Regions from separate parts of the Homo sapiens genome. Here region 2 is linked to region 1. Evidence: promoter capture Hi-C in 16 types of primary human blood cells and fetal thymus (Javierre and others, 2016). All regions are on one chromosome and are shown on one strand. The core of a region is centred on a gene start or on the middle of the fragment in contact, and the rest is flanking DNA. Distances in the headings are between cores, read along the strand shown. Region 1 holds the start of SLC16A10 (solute carrier family 16 member 10). Region 2 has its middle 13 kb from the start of CCN6.

Region 1 (7,641 bases), core at 2,744-5,243:
AAGTAGGACCAAGAAACAGGGACCCTTCTTTCTAATCCCAGAATGCATGGTAGAGCACTCAACCAATCACTAACACTTAAATTAATCAACAACATAAAAAACATCGTATTTGCAGAATGTTATCTAGTCAATGCAATATGATGAATGATTAAAACCCAGCTCCTGGTGCTTGCTTCAGCAGCACTTTGAACAACAATCTACTAAAATTGGAATGACACAGAGAAGATTAGCGTGACCCCTGAACAAGGATGACATGCAAATTCATGAAGCATTCCATATTTTAAATAAATAAATAATTAAAATAAAAATCCCAGCTCTTAGAGTCAGATAAGCCTGGGGTTGAATTCTGGCTCCACTTCTTACTTAAACTCTGTAAGCCTGAGTTCCCATATCTGAAAAGAAAGATATTAACAAAGTCTATCAGAGAATCGTGGTAAGGTTTAAATAGGAACGCATCTAAAGTGCTTAGCCACAGGAAAGTACTCAAGAAATGCGCACCATCATTTGGAGACCTAGATTCCATTCCACCACCACCTCCCTGTATATCCTTAGGCTAGTCACTTGCTATAAAGAAGTAATGGAAACAAGGAGACAGAACTAGCTGTACTCTAACACCAGGATTATCCATCATGAGTACGGTAATAGAAAATAGACCAAAACTTTGAAAAATAAAAGGCTTAAACAAATTCCAGATATTTTTTGGCATGTATTTGAAGCTTGCATATGCTTGATCACAGACGACTCAGCATTCGAATATCAAAGTGAAAAAGTGTGACCAATCAAACTTCAAAGCAGATATTCTCAAATAACAGTGACTGTGGTAGATGAGGGACTTCATGAAACACCTTTGTGTGTGTGTGTGTGCACTGAAGGAAAGAGAAAGGGGTAGGGGACAGGGGAAGAGAGAGAGATCTCAACAATAACTGGCTTAAAGACTATCTTGTAACCATTTTTTCAGCACTAAGTTTAAATCTGTTTTCTTCCTCAGCCCTTAACATCTATCAGTCATATATGTATTACCTAGCACCCAAGTAATGGCCATTGTTCAATCTAGATGCTGTGTTATACAGGGCCATTACAAGTGCATAGGGCCCTTCTGTAGGAATCAGACAAAGGGCACCCAGAGCCCAGGCTGGTTTTCAGTCCCCACTTACCCCTGAGTTGGGCACCCTTGTGCAATGGCACAACCATAAATAGATATACAGCAGTCAGGCAGAGAAACACAAAGATCTTCACACATTTAACTAGCACACCTGTGCAACTGTTTATATGATATATACCCACACATACACAAACATGACTGAAAAAGTTGTCAAAGACTGAACTGAGTAAAAAGAAAAAAGATATTCATCAAAATGGAAAACACAAAGTTCCACAGAGTGCAAAAGAAAAACCAGGTTCCTTCCCTCACTCTCAGCTACCCAGTATTGGGATATTGTGTAGCCAATTAGAACTTTGGGGACAAGTAGTAGGTAGAGACTTTGACACTGCAAAATTCTCATCCCTGGCAAAGCTATGGTCTCTCTGGCAATTGCTCTCTCTCTCTCTCAAAAAAAAAAAAAAAAAAAAAAAAAAAAAAAAAAAAAACCCACCCACAGACACCAAAGGATCTACTTAACTGAATTTGCAAAAACAATGATAAACAAAAGACTGCTGTTATCTTGACTGCATTAAAAAATCTGTAATCCCAGGCAGGAATATGGTAAATGTTGGAACTAGTCTTTAAATGTTAACTCTGTCAATTCTGCCTTCTTTTGGGGCTTTTCTCTCTGACACCCAATACTCATATAGAAAAGACAACAAACTATTTTTGTTTGCTATTATATATGCATATCTCCCCTGCTAAACTTTACAATGATTACTTCCCTTAAATGGTAAGGATATGTTACTACATTTTTAACACTTTTTGTACCTAGCCCATTGACCCGCATACCACAGCAGTTTCAATAGCTATTTAAAGAACAGAAATTCCAGGTTAAAATGGTACCGTATTCACATGCATAACGAGAGTGTACAAGAATATTCATTGCAGCATTGTTTAGAATGAGTTTGGAAGCAATCTAAATGCCCATCAGAGGGAGAATGCATAGAGTATAATATAGTCAAACAATGCAAACCACCTAAGTTAAAATGGAAAGAATTTGAGTTATCAGTTCACACTGAGGTATTATGTGGATAAGTCACAAACATGATGCGGAATGGAAGAAAAGTAAGTTGCAGAATGATACAAATAGTTTAATAGTATTTATGTCAGGTTTTAAAACTCTCAGCATAACCCAGCATTACCTTTGTCTCAGAATTTATTACAGTCTTGCCCATTCCTCATATGCATACTAAAGACCTAAGAAATATTCACTCTAAAAATAATAGAAAATCAAGGTTAAAAAAAAAGACTATTAATCATATAAAGTTACCCCAAATGATGGGGAGGGAGGTTGATTTAGTAATGGAAATCACTTAGCCCTTGAAGTCAGTTGATATGTGTTTTATTGCCATTCTACTACCCACCAAGACACTTTCACTGAGCTACAGTTTTCTCACCCAAATGGGGTTGACCGCGCTCACCTTGCAGGATAAAGTGAAAGAATTTATGTTAAAGTGTCATGCAGAAGGTCTTAGATTTGTTTTTTGCCTAACCAGCCAAAAAGTCATAATAATGCTCTACAGGGAGAAAACGCTGAATCTGCACCTTTTGTATCTAATTTACTATATGGTTAAAAAAAAATGTCAAAAAACACAACAGGAAGAGGGAAGAAGCAACCCTTCACCTTCCTCATCCTAGTCCCTAATCCGGCTGCCTCCCGTGTTTTCTACATTTAACCCAGAGGGCAAAAAAAGGCGGGGGGACGGGAACGCACGGAACCGTGACTCTTGCAGGGCCCCCTTTGGAACTCCAGTGACCTTCGTACAAATCTCTTTCATTCCTCCAAACTCCACCCCCCGCCCCGCCAACATACGCACACCCCTCTGCGGCCCAGGGAGGCAGGTGAAGAACTACATAACTGGCATAGTCACGAAAGAGACCACAAAAATGACAGGGCGATGACTGGGGTTGAAGGTTCTGGGGTTCTGTTTGTTTTCAAACAATAAAAGGAAGGGCTCCTGTGGACTGTTAGCGTCTGCTCTGCTGAGGGGAAAGGAGGACGATCTCGGCAAGTAAGTTCTGCGACCTGCTTGCAAACACACAGCTCTGCAGCTGGATTCCATATAAAGACGGGCACCCCGAGGCCCCAGAAGCGGCAGGCTCTGTCTGCAACTCGAAAGACCCCCCTGCTCGCACCCTCTGGCACAGGGACCCACCGACATGCACACTCGGAGGCAGACACAGCCCACACGCGGGATGCGCTCGGGGGCCCCACGCGGGTCGCCCAGGCTGGCCTCGGCGGGCGCCGCGCCTCACCTGTCTTAAAGACCATCTTGTCATCGTCTTTGGAGCCGAAGGTTTCCAGCATGGACACGAAGAGCACCCCGCAAGCGTTCTGGATGCCGAACACCGACCCGTTGCACCACATGGCCGCCAGCATCACCAGCCAGCCCCAGCCGCCCTCGGGGGGTTCGGGGGGCTCATGGGGCTCCGCGGTCGCCGGCCCCGCCAGCTCCACCTCCACCTTCTCGACAGCCGCCTCGGGGCTGTCCGAGGGTCCCGGGCCGGGCGGCGGAGCGGCCCCCGTGGGCGCGGGGCCGAGCGGCTGCGCCTCGCTCGTGCCCCGCGCGGAGTCCGGCTCCTCCTGGGAGAGCACCATGGCCCGAGGCGGGCCCCTCAGGCGCCGGAGAAGCGCGAGGGACGCGAGTTACCAGCGGGCTCCCGGAGGAGCTGCGGGGCTCCTGGCGGGCTAACGAGGCCGAGGCGAGGGCGGCGGAGCCCCTGGCGGGCGGGCGGGCTGGCAGCGCGCAGGCGGCCAGCGCGCAGGCGGCCGCGAGGACAGCTGGCGCGCGCGAACACCTCGGGGATCGACACTGAAGCCTCTAGGTCACAGCCCCGCACCCCCGACTGAGCCCACTGCCAGCCGCCGGTTCTTAAAAGCACCCCCCGCCCCGCCGGCTGGGGGCGTGGCCGGGAGCGGGACGTGCCCCCACAGCCTCCAGATGATTGGGCCTCGGAGAGCGGAGGCGGGGCGCCCCGCGGCGCGCGGCCCCAGGTGCCCGCGGCAGACGCTGTCTGCGCGCGCGTCTGCGACGGGGCCTCCTCCTGCTCAGAGAGGGGCACAGATGTGTGGGTCACCCCGCCTCAAAGCATGAGCAGAAGGGGCGCGTCTCCTAGGTGCGGGCGCGGTGGGCCTTCAGGAGAGCCACACTGGATCGTTAGCCTCAACTCACCGACACAGCGTCACAGTCACACTAACATTGTCTCGATTGTGTTTGTTTTATGTTTTGGCATTCACCTCTCAGTACTAATTATAATATGTAAGATTCGTTATGCCACCTGGCTTCTTAAATAAGTCATCTGAAGGATCAGAGCCCTTATTTTATTACTTCAGTTCCATTCTCTTGCATTCGTATACAATTTCCTTATGAATATTTGGCACACCAAAGATGCTTATTTTCAGTCCTCACTGGACTGCAATTCCGAAGTCTTCAACCAACAAACATTTTTAACAGACAGCTAGAAAGCATTACTTTTCAACTACATCAGAGTCGTTTTCACTTTAAACAAAAACTAAAACCTGTATTCAACTCCTCTGTCTCCCTGAAGCATGGAGTGCCATCCTATGTAAAAGAAAAGAAGAGTAACCTGCTATGCAATATTGAGGATGCTTCTTAATTTCTGTTATTCGTATTCTTCACTTCAATCAAAGTCAAAATATGCTAGTTACTTGATGTGCCCACCACTGTGATAGAGTACACAGATGAGTGCGATTGATCTCGTTTCTGCCTCTTATCAGTTGATAAACTGGTAGGAAAAAAGAGTCCTGGGAGAGACTAGGAGGCTCAGATGATGTGTTATAATACATGTACAAAAGAGAGAGATGAGATAGTCCCTTAAATTCTCTCCAAACACTGTAGAAGAGCCTCTACAGCAAACAGCCTTTGGCCGAAGCCCTGATTCATACATACGACTTCAGTGGGTCAAGACAGGAAAAGAGCATTCCAGGTAGAGAAAATAGCATAAACTAAGGAAAGCAAGCCGTGCTTGGTTGTGGAATGGGGAACATAGCTCAAGTGTAATCTGCCTTAGAAATGAGGGTAAAATAGTAAACAAAGGAATAGGCACATAAGTGCACAAAAATGTATGTATGAAGATGATACCCCAGTATTGTTGGAAATAAGGAAAATTTGGAAGTATAATGTACATTGGTAGAAGACTGATTAGATACTTACTTTAAAACCTCTAAAAGTTCTGAAGGTCATCTGTATTTATTGACTTTGAAAGTTGTCCACAACATATTATTGGGCAAAGAAAGCACATCGATTATATATTTGCATGCACACAAACAAACACATATGTAAGAATTATCCACGAGTCAGTACTGATGTAAGTAAATGATTAAATAAATAATGAGGAGAGAATAGACAAATCTCTCCTGCAGGAAATGTAAATACTTTATGAACATACTCCCTCCCTCATGGAGGTGAAGTACAATGGTTTACTCTTTAAGTGTGGGTATGCGTAGTAACTTTCTTCCAAAGAGTATAGGATGGAAAGGGGGAGTGGGGGGAAGAAATAACTTTAGGGTGCAAAAAATGGCACACAGTACCTCAACTAGATGATAATGTATCCCCGATATGATGTGATGAAAATGGTACTTTACCTCTGTGGTCTTCCTGCCAAAACCCATAATCCCTGGCTAACCATCAGAAAAACATTAGACAAATCCCAATCAAGGACAGTCTACAAAATACCCATTAAGTACTTTCATTACTGTAAAAGTCATCAAAAACAAGGAAAGTCTGAGAAACTGTCACAGTAAAAAAGAGTCTAAGAGGGCTGGGTGTCGTGGCTCATGCTGGTAATCCCAGCACTTTGGGAGGCCGAGGCGGGCGGATCACTTGAGGTCAGGAGTTCGAGACCAGCCTGGCCAATATGGCGAAACCCCATCTCTACCAAAAATACAAAAATTAGCCAGGCATAGTGGCGTGGGCCTGTAATCCCAGATACTCAGGTGGCTGAGGCAGGAGAATCGCTTGAACCCAGAAGGCAGAGGTTGCAGTGAGCTGAGATCGCGCCACTGTACCCCAGCCTGGGTGACAGTGAGATTCCAACTCAAAAAAAAAAAAAAAAGCCTAAGAGACATGATAACTAAATGTAATGTGATATCCTGGATGGATACTGGAACAGAAAAAGGACATTAGATTAAAAGTAAAGAAATATGAACAAAATGTCGGCTTTAGTTAATAATAATGTATCAACATTGGGTCATTAATTGTAACAAATGAGGCAAGGTGTGGTGGCTCAAGCCTGTAATCCCAGCACTTTGGGAGGCTCAGGTGGGAGGATGGCTTGAGGCCAGGAATTCGAGATCAGCCTGAGCAACATTGCTGAGACCAGCAACCAGGCTGGTCTCGAACTCCTGGCCTCAAGCAACATAAGTAATAATCCATCTCTTTAAAAAAAGAGTGTTTACTTCTAACTACCAATAGGCTATTGAATGGAGCAGAGTTTTAGGTGTCCAGGAAAACTACCTTCTATTTCTATGTCCACACTAATCAACAACTCACATTGTGTTATTGGATTGACCTCATCTTCTCCACCTGAAAATATGAACCTGTTTACTTATAACTACAGCATAGTGACATAGTGATGGTATTTTTTTTTTTTCCTGAGATGGAGTCTCACTCTGTCACCAGGCTGGAGTACAGTGGCCCAATCTCGGCTCACTTCAACTTCCACCTCCCGGGTTCAAGCGATTCTCCTGCCTCAGCCTCCTGAGTAGCTGGGACTACAGGCGTGCACCACCACACCCAGCTAATTTTTGTATTTTTAGTAGAGATGGGGTTTTACCATGTTGGCCAGGGTGGTCTCGATCTCTTGACTTCGTAATCTGCCTGCCTTGGCCTCCCAAAGTGCTGGGATTACAGGCATGAGCCACCATGCTCAGCGCAGTGATGGTATGTTTTTAATGAGTTCCTATTTATTAAGTGCTTTGAGATCAGATAAAAAGATTTATAAAATTTTAAAAGGTGTAATAGTTCATTAAATCTAAATGCCAACAGTGCTTTATGTAGGCCTTTTCATCAGCAGTTTATGTTAAACTTATTTATTAAACAAAACAATCCACTTGATTCCTTATTCTATTTCAAAAGACCAACCTTTCCTATTTAGGACAGTCTTATTTATTTATTTTTATTTTGTTTTATTTTATTTTTGAGACAGAGTCTCGCTCTGTCACCCAGGCTGAAGTGCAGTGGTAAGATCTCGGTTCACTGCAACTCCACCTCCTAGGTTCAAGTGATTCTCCTGCCTCAGCCTCCCAGGATGGTCTTGATCTCCTGACCTCATGATCCGCCTGCCTCTGCCTCCCAAAGTGCTGGGATTACAGGTGTAAGCCACTGTGCCTGGCCCTTTTTTTTTTTTTTTTTTTTGAGACAGAGTCTCTCTCTGTCCCCGAGGCTGGAGGGCAGTGGCACAATCTCAGCTCACTGCAACCTCTGCCTCCTGAGTTCAAGTGATTCTCCTGCCTCAGCCTCCCAAGTAGCTGGGAT
Region 2 (7,002 bases), core at 1,745-4,244, 950 kb before region 1:
TTGGCCTTGTTAGTCTGGTTTGCAGGGGGAGCTCTGTGTGGGAAACAGGGCTGAGTTAATCAGAGGCAGACACCGAGGCCGACCACATGCAAAGGAGAAGCAAGAGAAGAGGAGGACAGAAAAATTTCCAGTATTTCCAAATGTGGGTGAAGCTAATCTTTCAGAGAAGGAAAAGTATGCATAATGTGGTGTGTCATTCCTGATTTGTAAAATGCTTGCACATGTGAATCATAATTCAATTAGATGGGGACAGTGACAGGCATCCTGGACTTGGAGTCAAAAGACCCTCATTCACCTTCAAGCTCTGCTACTTTTCTGAGCTCACTCACCTTAGACAATTTCCTTCAGGCCTCCCTGCCTCCAAGCTTCCTACCTCCCCCAGTCCAGCCTCAACATTGCCATTTGATCTCTTTTTCTTAAACACAAATTAGATCATGTCACTCTCCCGCTCAAAACCCTTTTTCACTCCCCCTGGAATAGAACCCAGCTCCTGGGAAGCACAGTAGAAGGCCTTCCACGATGAAGCAACCTCACCCCTGCACTATCCTTGCCTCACCTGCCAGCTCAGGTAGCACAGACCTGCTGTACTGCGAGTCCCCCAGCCTCTTGCTTTTGCTTATGCGATTCTACCAGGACAACCCTGCCCACTGCTTTATCTGATAAGCAGTTTGCACAAGCGACTTCTCCCCTGAGAACGCTTCCTAACCAGCACCCACAGCAAAGCTCCTCAAGCAATTAGCGTGCCACCCTGCCCTTGTAAAGCCCATACTGCAATCATCTGTTTATATGCACGGTTGCAAGATTTTGCTTATAAAAATAATGATAATAATAGATGCCCAGTTAACTGCTTTAGCATATATGGGACACACACACACACAAATTCCGTGTTAACCTGAAATTCAAATTTAACTGGGCATATGTTCATATGGCTTGTCCCTACTAGACTGGGTCACTGAAAATAGAGACTGAGACATCTTCATAGCCTTGGTACCCACAACATGACTGACTTACAGCAGGGGCTTGGGAAATACTTACTTTAGAGTTTTTAGCCTTAAAGTTACTAATCTTACAGGAAAATGAATAAACACTCCACTCACTTTTTATTTGCCTTCTTCAGTGAGATCTACATTAAGTGAGATCTAGGTTTTGCAGAAGGCTAAAGGTCACCCTTCTGCAAAATCTAGATTGCAGTTTCCAGACTGTCCGGCTCCAACCTGCCATGAGCCCCTGCGGACGCTAGATGGCGGAATGGGTTAAGGGACTAGCCCTGCTCTGGGGTCCGGGCGCCCCTATATAAAAGCAGGCGCTTCCTCTGCCGCAGAGCCCTGCATTATTGATTGTGACGCTGCCGCAGAGGTGGGAGGAGCCCGCCGCCATCTCGCCAAGTCTGCAGTATCGGGAACATGGCTTTAGGATCCTTTTCTCTCTCTGCAAAAAGTCCCTCGATAGCTGGAAAGAGAGAGCTCTCTGTGGCCCACATGATTGTTTTCATTCATAGGAAGATCAGACCTTCCCATAGTCAGAATCATTTTTATTTCACATTGTCATTCTGAATAGCGGCACCAAAGAATAGCAGCTGTACTTTCTGAAAGCCACTGATTTGAATCGGCACCTATCGTAAAATATTACCGCGTCACTGAAAGGCAAAATAGTCGGGGGCGGTGGGGGAAATTCATCATCTCTTTAGGTTTCTCAGTTACAAAACATTCTTATAAAAATAGATGAAAGTACTACGGACGTAAAATAGTTTCATGATATTTAAAACCACGGCCGTATTTTCAACCAGCATTCATTGGAACCGGAATCTGTATCTTGGAACTGAAAAGCGCTGATCTGAAACTAAACCGTGGGTGGGGCCCTGACGCCGTCCCCTCCGTGGCACCCTTCCCTCCGGGCCAGCAGAGGGCGCTCAACGGGCAGTCAAAGGGGCTCTCGCAGGAGTCCTGCCTATACAAACATTTTATTTTAGCAGGGAACTGAGTTGTCTATTTACTCACCAGTGTTTTTATTTAGCCAATGCCTTTCTTTGAATATAGATGTGCTGATTAGAGTGCTGTATTGTTCCCTCTCTTTATGAGCCACACATATAATGCATCCTCCATGTTGTCTCATTTGAGTTTCCTTTGTGAAATGAGAATTTAGAGACAGTGTAAAACATCTTGACTAAAGAATCTTAGATTCTGTACTCATAACCATCAAATATAATTCAACAACACATTTAAAGCAGCTTTTCCTGTTGAATCTTTCCCAAGCATTTTGCTTTTTCTTTCCATTGGAAATATCTTTCTTCATGTATCTGTGTATCATCAGTTTTAGTAATATTTGCTCAAATTAATATTTGCTCAAATTGTGTCGTTATCGGGATACAATTAAGTGGAATGAACAGATTAGGAAAGAGGCAAACAACACACTGGGCCTACTAAAGAGGAGCCTCCTCTCCTACCAGCTGTGAGCTCTCAGTGAGCTCAGGGTGTGTTCGTATGTTCCACGAAAGAAACTAAGAGTTAATTAATCTGTCCTGGTACGCGGAGGTCAATCAAGACAGTTTCCACCTGAATTCAGAAAGGTTACATCATTGTTTAAAAGAAATACACACACACACACACACACACACACACACACACACACACCACTTTTCCAAATCCACATGTAATGTAATTGAATCAACTGCTAAATCAAATGCTGTCTTAAGACTTGACAGAACAAAACTGAGCTCACGCTTACACACACTAGGACTGTTAATTGATGAGGCTCATCCACAAAAGACTCTCCAAAGTGAATCTCGTGTCACAGTTTCAGAGTGTGGAAAGCAACTCTTCAGTCCTGGATGATGGCTTTCAGAATGCCATCTGTGTCCTGTGCATGCCAGGCACACAGACACTGCCCTTACCTGCCCCTCAGGTTTTATGTCCAAAGTTAGTATGTCCACCTTCAGTAAGCAAGAATATCAGTTCTTAAACTCAGGTTCACAATAAATATATTTTTAGAATCCCTTAAATCAAGTCGCATGTAACTCCAAGTCCCCCTTTTATTGAGCTGTTGGACAGCTGAATCATAATCATTATTGGGCACCTCCTCCATCCTGGTTTGGGTCAGGGTTCCAGGTCCCTGCAGCCCACAGGCAATGGTTCCTTCAGGTTTGACAATCCTGCTATTTCAGTACCAGCCTTGGGTCATGAGAACATTGGTGCACTGGAAGATGCTGCATCTAGGGACCAATCTCCCTGGCTGGAGTCGCTGCTAGGGATATCTTGGCACCTCCCCAGCCCAGCACACTGCCAAGGAGAGGTGAGCAGCTCCCATTCTCACAGGACCTCTGACCAGTCTTGGGGGAGGAGAATCTCTTCCAGCCACCTAGCTGCTCCAAAAATGTGCCACTTCCTCCTCCCACTCTAGGAATTTACTGTAAACGGTAGTATCAGCTGTAAACCCTTTCAAACAAGATGGTGCCACCATCCCCACCCCCATTCCCAATAAAACTAAGGAGCTGCAGAAACTAAATGTGTGGATTGGCACTGCATGGGAAAAAGTTCTGTTCTAATGGGACAACGTAATGCTAAAGATTCAAAGCCACTTTGATCAAAAACATTCTGTCTTTTCTGGACAGTTACAAAAAGAGGAAAGATGGAAACTTTCCCACCATGGAGAACATGGGAGCTCTGTTTTGGGGCTCTTGAAGCATTTCCATGTATAAACACTTTGTTTTGTTAGCCAGCATTTTCGGTTCATGCATTCCTTCAGTCCCACCTCTAATTAAGCAAAGGCATTAAATTTTTAGTATCAGTAATAAATATCCCTTCCACCCCCCAAAAATGTTTATTACAATTATATGTTTTTTCTGCTACTGAAAAGGAATAACTTAAGTTTATGTGATGTAAATGTTGGCTTTGAGAAAATGAATAGGGAAGTGAGTCAGGAAGCAATCAACAGGAAGCATAATGGTGGGAAAGAAAGCTGGGACTCACAACCCCTGAGATCTGGAGGGTGAATGCAGGTCACCGGGCCACTTCCTTTAGGGAGCTCATTATTTCAGAGACAGCACACCATTGTTGGAACCCTGTGTAGCAGCACTGTCTAGCAGAACTTTCAGCAATTATGGAAATATTCTATAATATAGAACTATAATGTGCTGTTGAGCATTTAAAATATGGTCAGTGTGAATGAGGAACTACATTTTTTATTTTATTTAATTTTAATTAATTTAAGTTTAAATAGTCATAAGTGGCTAGTAGCTGCCATGTTGATAGCATAACTCTGAAGTCTTTTTTCTTTTTTAATCCATAATTTATCCCTCACATATTTCCATAAATGTTTTTGTAAGCTAAGACAGCTTACAAAAAAATCAAGCACAGTATAAAACAGGAGAATTAAATTTTTTTTAATGATTGAAAAAAATAGTAAAAGAAGAGGAAAGCTCTGTAAAATAGAGCAGAGAACTAGATGCTCCCAGACACATGGAATGAGTCAGTGCCTTTGAAAATTAAATTTATTTCTAAATTGCTGGAAAGTAAAGCAAAAATGAAAAGTCATGCAGGAGGGAAAGGTGAAATTTGTAGTTAACCATTGTTTGGCTGCTCAGAAACACTCAGTTCCTGAAAATGGTCGCCTTGCCCCTGAAGCCCTTACTCTCAACCATTTCTTCTAGTTGGTATGGCCGAGCTCCTCTGGGTGATACCCCTGGGACCTCATCCAACCTGGCCAATCATAGTCCTTTCTTTGAGAGATGACTGGAGACACAGAGAAGTGTGGTGTCTCCATAGACTGATGGATGGCATGTGTGAAACTTGGGGTGTGTTGAGCTGAGGGACAGAGGATGGCAGTCTGCACCAAGGCAGGGGACAACAATGTGGTTAGGGTCACCAGTACAGGCTATGGATTCACACTCGCTCTCTTACTACAATAGCTGTGTGACATTGGACACATGCCTTTACTTCCCCAGGCTTCCACCTCTGAAAAATGGAATAATTTTAGTTCAGATTTTACAGAGTTGTTGTAAAAATAAATAAATAAATAAAATGCAATGAACCTAAGCAGAAAGCATGCCTAGGACATAATAAATGCTCCACAAATATTATTAATTATATGAATATTGGCAGCAGAGTCCTGACAACATTCATGTTTTTGGATTTGTGTCATTCCCAAAGTCCAAGCATGGATTCCACTGGATTCCATGAGACATGCTCCTCCCCCATATTCTTTTTTTTCCCCAGTTTTATTGAGCTGTAATGGACAAATCTCTCCCATATCCTTAAAATGAAATTTCTGTTTTGCTTAAGCTAATTTGGATTGGGTTTCTGCTAACTGCCTCCAACAGAGTTCTCACTTGTATGTCACCTTGTTTGGAAGTCTAACTTGTCTTCCTCCCTACGCAGAAGGCCAGGTCAGCTGCAGGAGCACCTAACCTTTGCAGACTCTTCACAGGCAACAGGCATGGAATAGGAGAATGCAGATGAACCAGTCATAGTAAAGATACTATCTTTAGTGAACATTTGCTATGTTTGTGGCTGCCCATCACCCACACTCTCTTCTTATTTGGGAATAAACCTCCCAGAATATGCATCTTGGAGGGACATGCGGCTCCATCTCCTATGATAGGATCTGGAAGTTGCCACATCAAGCTTTTCTCCACTCCTAGGCAATCTATGCACTGTGTTCTTCTCTGAATTCTACATAGCTAAGAACAGGAAGACCCAGTGCCCAGCACTGTTGCCAACACAGTAGATAATAATTGTCTGTTGAACAAATGAATAAGGGAGCCAGTGGACGAGTTAATGCGGAAGCAGTAAACTAAAGCAGAATGAGGAGTCCGCTGCTCGTGGGCGCCAAGAAGGCGGGTGTTTGCCCTGGAATGTCAGCCTTGCCGTGAACTTGGTAATGGAGAAAGGGCAGGGCTGATGATCCAAAAAAATCTACTCATCACAAAAATATGAGGTTATTTGGTCGTTTGTTTTTCCTTGTGAGAAACGTTTACAAGGTAAACCTTCTGTTAAGGTAACGAGCACACCTTGCCTGAAACAGATGCGCACTGTGAACTGGTCATTAATGGAGCAAGTTGTGACCCTGTTTGATGGTGGAGCTAGATGCGCCGACACAGTCCAAGGACAGCTAACAGTTCATCACTGGCAGCTGTGGGATTTCTGACTCTTCGCTCTGCATTCATCCAGCTCAGTTCCCACAGGCCCCTGAAGTGACAGACTCACCCATACCTTGCTCATATACATTTGGATGATTTGGCTCATCTCTCAGGGCCTTCATTTCCGATATTCCCCCACTCTTTATTGAATCCAAAACAAAGAAGAAAAGAACCATTTCTGACAATGTTTGTCATCTATAGAAATAAAATTACATTTCTGTTTTTTTTGTTGTTGTTGTTTCTGTTTGTTTGTTTTCCTGCTTCTTATCGCATCAGGGGAAGACAGCCAGACAGATTTCCACCAATTTGGGACCCCCCAGCTTAAAATATTGACTAACTGGTGTTTGAAAATGGTACTGTAGGGGCCCCTGAAGGCTCCTTTGAGAGGTAGGCAGCCATCCGCTGGGGAAGCAGCACACAGAGGCATAGAAGCCAGGCTGACCGTGCCTCTGGGACTGAGATGAAGTAAGAAGCAGGCACACAGCAGGCCCTCTGGTTCACAGGCTTCTGGTGAGTGGAGCTGCTTTCCACAGGGCAACTCCAGTCTAGCTCAGGGGTCTCAGCCTGCAACACTCCTGCAGATCACCCAGGCGTCATGCCTGGGATCTGAGTGGGGCGGGAAACTCTGCCTTTCTAACCAGCTCTGGTGGTTCTCAGACCCTACTTGGAGTCGGAGGTTCAAGTGCCAAGGTGAGCAGCACACATGGTTATTTACATAACAATTTCCCAGAGTAATTTCCAGTACAGCAGATACATTCAATAAAGGAAGCCTGGAATAGAGAGGAAAAAAATCCTCTCACACACGAGCATTCCCACTTGCTTGAAGCAGTGGCTCTCAGCTTTGGCTGCAACTAGAATCATGTGGGGAA

Evidence for each region. Contacts are between HindIII fragments. The CHiCAGO score rates a contact against its expected background, and 5 or more counts as called.
Region 2: a fragment that was not itself captured here is called in contact with the fragment with the promoter of SLC16A10 in region 1 in 1 of 17 cell types (fetal thymus); the score reaches 5.2 in fetal thymus.

The regions. Positions count from the first base shown.
Region 1 is chr6:111,083,855-111,091,495 of GRCh38, reverse strand. SLC16A10 (solute carrier family 16 member 10) reads right to left here and starts at 3,993. Exons shown (of 6, transcript NM_018593.5): 1 at 3,401-3,993. The coding sequence starts at 3,743. It also overlaps the pseudogene RNU6-960P. RefSeq lists silencers at 3,423-3,602, 3,633-4,312 and an enhancer at 3,110-3,610. The HindIII fragment of the contact is 14,016 bases long and covers 719-7,641 here.
Region 2 is chr6:112,038,088-112,045,089 of GRCh38, reverse strand. No RefSeq gene overlaps it. Among named protein-coding and RNA genes, the nearest start is that of CCN6, 13 kb to the left of the region's middle. RefSeq lists a silencer at 1,226-1,325. The HindIII fragment of the contact is 5,253 bases long and covers 368-5,620 here.